2 separate regions of the Homo sapiens genome follow, and region 2 is linked to region 1. The links are contacts of gene promoters, found by promoter capture Hi-C in human tissues and cell types (Jung and others, 2019). All regions are on one chromosome and are shown on one strand. The core of a region is centred on a gene start or on the middle of the fragment in contact, and the rest is flanking DNA. Distances in the headings are between cores, read along the strand shown.

Region 1 (3,006 bases), core at 85-2,584:
GTACATTGAAAGACCCATAATTGCCACAAATAATCACAATTATGCAAGTATAAATAATCACCCTGCACAACTCTCCTCTTGCCCACAAAGTTATCCCTTTCATGAGAATTTAATATGTGACAATGGCCATTGTCTGCCAGGGAAAGCTCATACCGATTTCAGTTTCAGCAAGGCCACCTCGAGTCTCATAGAAACCAGAAAAAAAAAATGTCATTTTCAGGAAGCAAATTGATCGTTTTCCTCACATTTCCATTTGCGTTAAGATCATGGTGTGGCCTTGCTCTGGACTTTTTCCTATTCCCTGTTGCCTCTGGAGAGGAGGAAAGCTAAGGATGGCTGGTGGGCCCACATCGGGGGTCCCTGGGTGGATTGAAGGGCTCTTGTGGCTCCTGGAAGCCTCGCCCAAGTTTCTGGTAAGAAATCAAAAGGTGAGGTGGTGTCCCCTGTTCCCCTGTGGGATGATCAGCCCACAAAAGTGGGACAAATGAGTCTATAAAATGCTTCAGAGGGGCAGGTGGACTGCTCACTCGTGAGTCCCGGGAAACAGGCCTGGCCCAGTTCTCCAAACCTTTCCCCAGGGAGACCGCATCTCTGTCTTCTCTCTTCTTCTCTCTTCTCTCTTGTTCTCTCTTCTCTCTCTTCTCTCTTCTCTCTCCCCCTCCCTCCTCCTTCCTGGTTCTCTTTTTTCTGTTGATTTCACTCCCTCCTTTCTTTTCCCTTTCTCTTTCCTCCCCTTTCTCTCTCTTTCTCTGCCTGTTTCCCCTTTCCTCACTTTCATTTCTCTTTCTGTCTCTTTCTTTCTCTCCCTCTCTCAGGTCTCTCTTCTCTGTCTCTCTTCATCCTCAGTTTTCCCCTCTCTCCCCTCTTACTTTCTTTCCCTTTTTCCTTTTTCTTTCCATCTTCTTCCTCTCCCTCTCTGGGTTCGTGGCAACACAAGGAAACCCGCACATCCCCAGCCCGCAGCCTCGCCCCCTCGGTCCCACTGCAGTTACCCGGTGATCCATGCAGGTGGGAACAATCCAGTTAACTTTTCCCATCCGAGTGATTCTCTTTCTCTTCTTCATTCATAAATGCCATAACTCTCCCGGTCCTCCTTTCCAAGGCTCGTGCACTTGATTTCAAGGCTTGCCTGCCACCCAGGGTGCCACCAGAGTCCCAGTGCCTGGGTTGGGGGCTGGAGCGCACCCTTTGGGATCCCCCAGCCTGTCCTCCGCCTCACGGCTGCCTCGCTTCTGAGCTGCCACCCTCAGCTGACTCACTCAGATGAGATTTGGGAGGGAGGGGGGCAGGAGGAGGAGTTGCGAGAAGGAGGAAAACCCGCCTGGTCGGGTCCACACTTTGCCTAGATGCGTTTGGGTGTGGTGGGGAGCGGGTGACGGCCTCATTTACAGACAGAGGCCGGGGCTGGCTTCTAGGCGACCGGGTTGGCCACTTTCACTGCGCTTCTGGGTTTGCTGGGATCCAAGTTGACGCGACTTTTCCAGGAGTAGCTGGAAGACCTGAATAGAAACTTCAGGGGTCCCAGGACTGGCGGGGCTTAGAGGAACTCCCCGCCCCGCTTGCCCTTCCAGGGAACGGCCTGGCTAGGGGTGCGCTTTGACGCAAGGAGCGCATCGCTCTGCCTTGGCCGGGACCAGAGCTTGGGGGAGGCCTCCTTGCCCACTGCGAAGACTTTGGGGAAGGCGACGGCCAGGGGACGGACATCTGGGGGAGGGCTGGGGGTCTGAATGGCAGGAGCTGCACCAGGGGGCTGTGCGCGCTGCGCGGGTGTGCGCGCCTCGCCGGGGGCTGTCTCCACCTCTTCTGGCAAGTTGGACCTATGAGTGCGCAGCTCCGCTTACAACTATCAACAGCCGGGAAGGCTGAGCGCGTGTGAGCGCCGAGGGGGGCGCAGGACCCTCGCAACTTCTTCGCAGGACTCCAGCCTGGCCGCCGGCGCCCGCAGCCGTCCGAGAGCCCTGCGCCCGCGCCTCCCCTTGCGCACCGTGGCAGCGCCCGGCGGGCGGTCCTGCCAGCCCCGACGGGATGCCCGCAGCCATGCTCCCCTACGCTTGCGTCCTGGTGCTTTTGGGAGGTAGGTGCCACCCTCCCCCACCCGGCAAACTGGCTGAGCTCGGAAGGGAGGGAGCTCGCCGTCTAATGTCCCCTAAGGGCCCTTGGGGACTACGGCCCTGGGTCGGCCCACGCGGCTGCTATGCTGCGCCCTGCGCGCCTTTCTCCAGTCTCACCTGGCCGGCACCTGCGCGCCTCCAGGAGCTTCCTGGGGCCTGCGGGAGGGAGTCGCGTCACCTCGCAATATGAGAGCCGCTGCACTCTCTGCGCCAGTCGGGGCCTGGCCTGTAGGTACCCAGAGCTGCCCTTTGTGCCGGGCCCAGTGGGACCGGGGCCTCCAAGAAGATGCAGGAGGATCCCAGGCCCACTGAGACCCCCATGGTGCGGGACAAGCCCGGCTATTCAGACCAAGGTTACTGGGGTTGTTTTTGCCCACGGAATCCTGACCTGTGCGGGGTCGGGGCTTCTTCCTGCAGCAGGACTCGGGGAGAAGCTAGGGAGCGCGCAGTGACCCCAGGCTCGAGTTGTGCCCAGCAGGCCTGACAAAGGGGACCAAGGGGCTTCAGGAACCCCTGGTAGAGTAGTCAATGCCTTCTCCAGGACTAAGGGGTTCCCTGGTGGCTCTTCGTGGGGGTGGGGAGTAGGGTAGACAAAACTGTACAAAGGCCAGCTGACTGGAGTGTGCCATCACAGGGGCCCAGTCACCACTGACAAAAATGACAGTAACCACAGTTGAAGTGTGCCCAGCTGGGGGCTCATCCCCAAGCACCCTCACATTATGAATGGCTGAGAATTCTGGCCCTGGAGTTAGACCACCTGGCTGGGAAGCCCAGATCAACATCATATCAACCCGTCTGGCTTTGGGTAAGCATGGCCATCGGCTCTCTCAGCCTTGACTTTCTTTCCTGTCAAATGGGCTCACAAAATCCCCTCCTCCGTCTGGGATGATTGTGA
Region 2 (3,350 bases), core at 448-2,947, 40 kb after region 1:
AAAGTAAACCGAAGTAAGAAAGCAGATAATAAATGCCAGATGTGATGAGTGCTGCACAGGAGAGAAGAGAATGGAGTGAACAGAAGAGGGGTGCCTGGAAAGGATGCACTGCCAGGAAATGCCATTTATGCCGAGATCTCCGCGAAGATGGAGAGCCCAGCACAGAGCAGAGGATGGAACAGCACAGGCAATAGCCTCAAGGCAGCCAAAGGTTTGCCCTTTCAGCACTAGGGACTCACAGTGGAAAAGCACGGTGGGATGGGGTGGATGATCTGGTGGTAAAAAGGCACCCAGTTTCAAAGGGCTTCGAGGCTACACAAGAAAGCTTGGATATTGAACCAAGTGCACTGGGAAATCATTGAAGTTGTTGGCCATTGTTTAAATTTCCATCAAGACACTTGGGATGGTTTGAAGTTCTACTCTGATGTGAGTCTATTTGATTAATGTCAGTCTCTCCAGGAGAACAGGAATTCTGACCATCATGTGCAGCCATATAGACCCAGAGTCCATTTCATTTCCAGGCATACAACAGGCATTCAATAAGTATTTGGGGCAGGGCGCAGTGGCTCACGCCTGTAATCCCAGAACTTTGGGAAGCCAAGGTGGGTGGATCACGAGGTCAGGAGATCAAGATCATCCTGGCTAACATGGTGAAACCCTGTCTCTACTAAAAATACAAAAATTAGCAGGGCATGGTGGCATGCGCCTGTAGTCCCAGCTACTCAGGAGGCTGAGGCAGGAGAATTGCTTGAACCTGGGAGGCAGAGGTTGTAGTGAGCCGAGATTGCACCACTGCACTCCAGCCTGGGCGACAGAGCAAGACTCCGTCTCAAAATAAATAAATAAATAAAAATAAGTGTTTGTGTTGGGGAGAAGAAATGAATGAATGAATGATAGTTGGGTCACCTGGGGGACCTCAATTTTGGATGGCCCTTGTTATCTGCTGTGGGTTGAATGTAACCCCCCAAAAAAGATATGTTCGAGTCCTAACCCCCAGTACCTGGGAATAGGACCTTATTTGGATATAGGGTCTTTGCAGATGTAATCAAGTTAGGATGAAGTCACACTGGATTAGGATTAGGGTGGGCTCTAATCCAGGGATTGGTGCCTTTATAAAAGAAAGGAGAGGGAGATTTGGACACAGGTGCAGACAGAGGAAACACACAAGTAGGGATGAAGGCCATGGGAAGATGGGGGTAGAGACCAGCGTGATGCAGCCCCAAGCCAAGGGACACCTGGAGCCACCAGGTGCTGGGAGAGGCCCTACCCACACCTTGATTTCAAACTTCAGACTTGCAGACTCCAGACTGGGAAAGGATCGACTCCTGTTGCTTCAGCCACTCAGCGTGTGGTCTTTGTCGTGGCAGCCCTGAGATGCCCAGATGCTCTCCTTTCGCGTGCCTCAGGTGAGGTGACGAGTTCACCTTGAGCTGCTCCTCCCTCCGTCTTCCGTGCACCACCCTCAGGCCATTTACCACACCCACGAGTCCCTTGTACATCTCCTTATAAAATATGATTTTATTAAAATATTAAAAGAAAATAATTAAAATACCAAATATTTTAATATCAAGTTCAGATCAATCACCTTTTAAAACTCAGTCCTCAGAAAAACGGGCCATGCAAGTACAAGGCTGTTATGATAACTACCGCCACTTTTAACACCCTCTAAAACCGACGCGTGACTGTTGGAATACGAAGTGCTCGCTTCGCGCCTGAAATCACCTCGCACCCCACCCTGTGTTCGTTCGTGCCTTGCTTCGAGAACCTCAGAACAAGCAGATTACAGGAGAAAAAAGTACTTTTCTTTTGCTTTTTACCCCCAGAAGAAAGGTACCTGAAAAGCTGATATTTCTCCCTCTGCTCTGACTACAAAACTCACATCTTTTCTCCACCCTCTTCTCTCTTTGATCCATACCTGCGTTTTTCATGATCTTTGAAGAAAACATAAATTGTGGCCCCAGGAGTGAAGCCTCTCTAGGCCTCCACTGTTCATCTGCAAACTGGAATAACCACACCCATCTAGGAGAATTGCTGGGGAAGGGAGGTAAGAGAAGGGCACAGAGTGTGGGATTCCATCTTTATGAAATATCCAGAATAGGCAAATCCACAGAGACAGAAAGCGGAGTCATTGTTGCCGAGATCTAAGAGGAGAGGGGAGCGGGAGTGACTGCTGATGGGCACAGGGTCCCCTTTTGAGGTGATGACAACATTCTGGAATGAGATCGTGTTGGTGTTTGCACGGTATTGTGAATGTCCTAATGCCACCAAATTGTTCACTTTAAAATGGTTAAAACGGTGCCTGTTATTTTTTGTTTTGTTTTGTTTTGTTTTGTTTGAGACTGAGTCTCACTCTTGTCACCCAGTCTGGAGTGCAATGACATGATCTTGGCCCACTGCAACCTCTGCCTCCTGGGTTCAAGCGATTCTTCTGCCTCAGCCTCCCGAATAGCTGGGATTACAGGTGCGCGCCACCATGCCCAGCTAGTTTTTGTACTTTTAGTATAAACAGGGTTTCACCATGTTGGCCAGGCTGGTCACAAGCTCCTGACCTCAGGTGATCCGCCCACCTCGGCCTCCCAAAGTGCTGGGATTACAGGTGTGAGCCACCGTGCCCAGCCAAGATGGTACCTTTTATGTTAGGTGTATTTTACTAGGTGTGTTGTTGTGTTTTATTTAGCTAAGAAGCATCTGTCTGTGGAGGAGTGGCAATGGCCAAGTCCCTCCACCCCTCTGAACCACAGTTTCCTCATCAGCAAAATGGGTGCATTGACAGAACCCATGTCACGGGTGGTTGTGTCGATTATACCTGTCAATCCTTTGGGCTCTGCCAAGGTACTGACACGCTGCCGCTGTGAGGACTCAAGGTCATGATGCAGATGAAGCACCTGGCCTTGGGCCTCCCAGAATGTGTGCTCAGGAGACGCTGGGCACCATTTGATGATCTCAAGACAATCTTAGCCAAGTGCCCACACTTCTGGGTGTGCTCAGTGAGTGTCCTTTCCCCGGAAGGCCCCAGGCAGGTCCATATGGTATTTGTTCATGAGGCCTGTTTCTGGTGCTCTGATTCAGGATAACACATCGGCCTCAAGCAGGTCATATTTTAAGCTCCGGTAGCCTGGTCTGAGCAATTGGGAACTCTAGATTTAATTCTGCAGGTAATTTGAACAATGCTATCTAATTTCAAATGTCCCTGCTCTTATGAATGCAAAAACAGCATAATTTTTAATTAGTGGGTAAACAGTAAATAATGAATGACAGTAAGTGGACACCACTGTTAATTAAAAATCCATGGTTGATAAAAGTCAATTTGGTCCATGCATTTAACTCCGTCTATCACTTCCCTGCAAAAA

Evidence for each region. Contacts are between HindIII fragments. The study calls those that stand out against the background at their distance.
Region 2: a fragment that was not itself captured here is called in contact with the fragment with the promoter of APCDD1L in region 1 in 1 of the 25 tissues and cell types used here (ovary).

Annotation. Positions count from the first base shown.
Region 1 is chr20:58,513,727-58,516,732 of GRCh38, reverse strand. APCDD1L (APC down-regulated 1 like) reads left to right here and starts at 1,334. Exons shown (of 4, transcript NM_153360.3): 1 at 1,334-2,074. The coding sequence starts at 2,026. APCDD1L-DT (APCDD1L divergent transcript) reads right to left here and starts at 1,354. Exons shown (of 7, transcript NR_034147.1): 1 at 993-1,354. RefSeq lists an enhancer at 1,733-2,731. The HindIII fragment of the contact is 21,415 bases long and covers 1-3,006 here.
Region 2 is chr20:58,473,690-58,477,039 of GRCh38, reverse strand. The region is part of intron 1 of APCDD1L (APC down-regulated 1 like); the gene reads left to right. Among named protein-coding and RNA genes, the nearest start is that of APCDD1L-DT, 40 kb to the left of the region's middle. The HindIII fragment of the contact is 5,723 bases long and covers 1-3,350 here.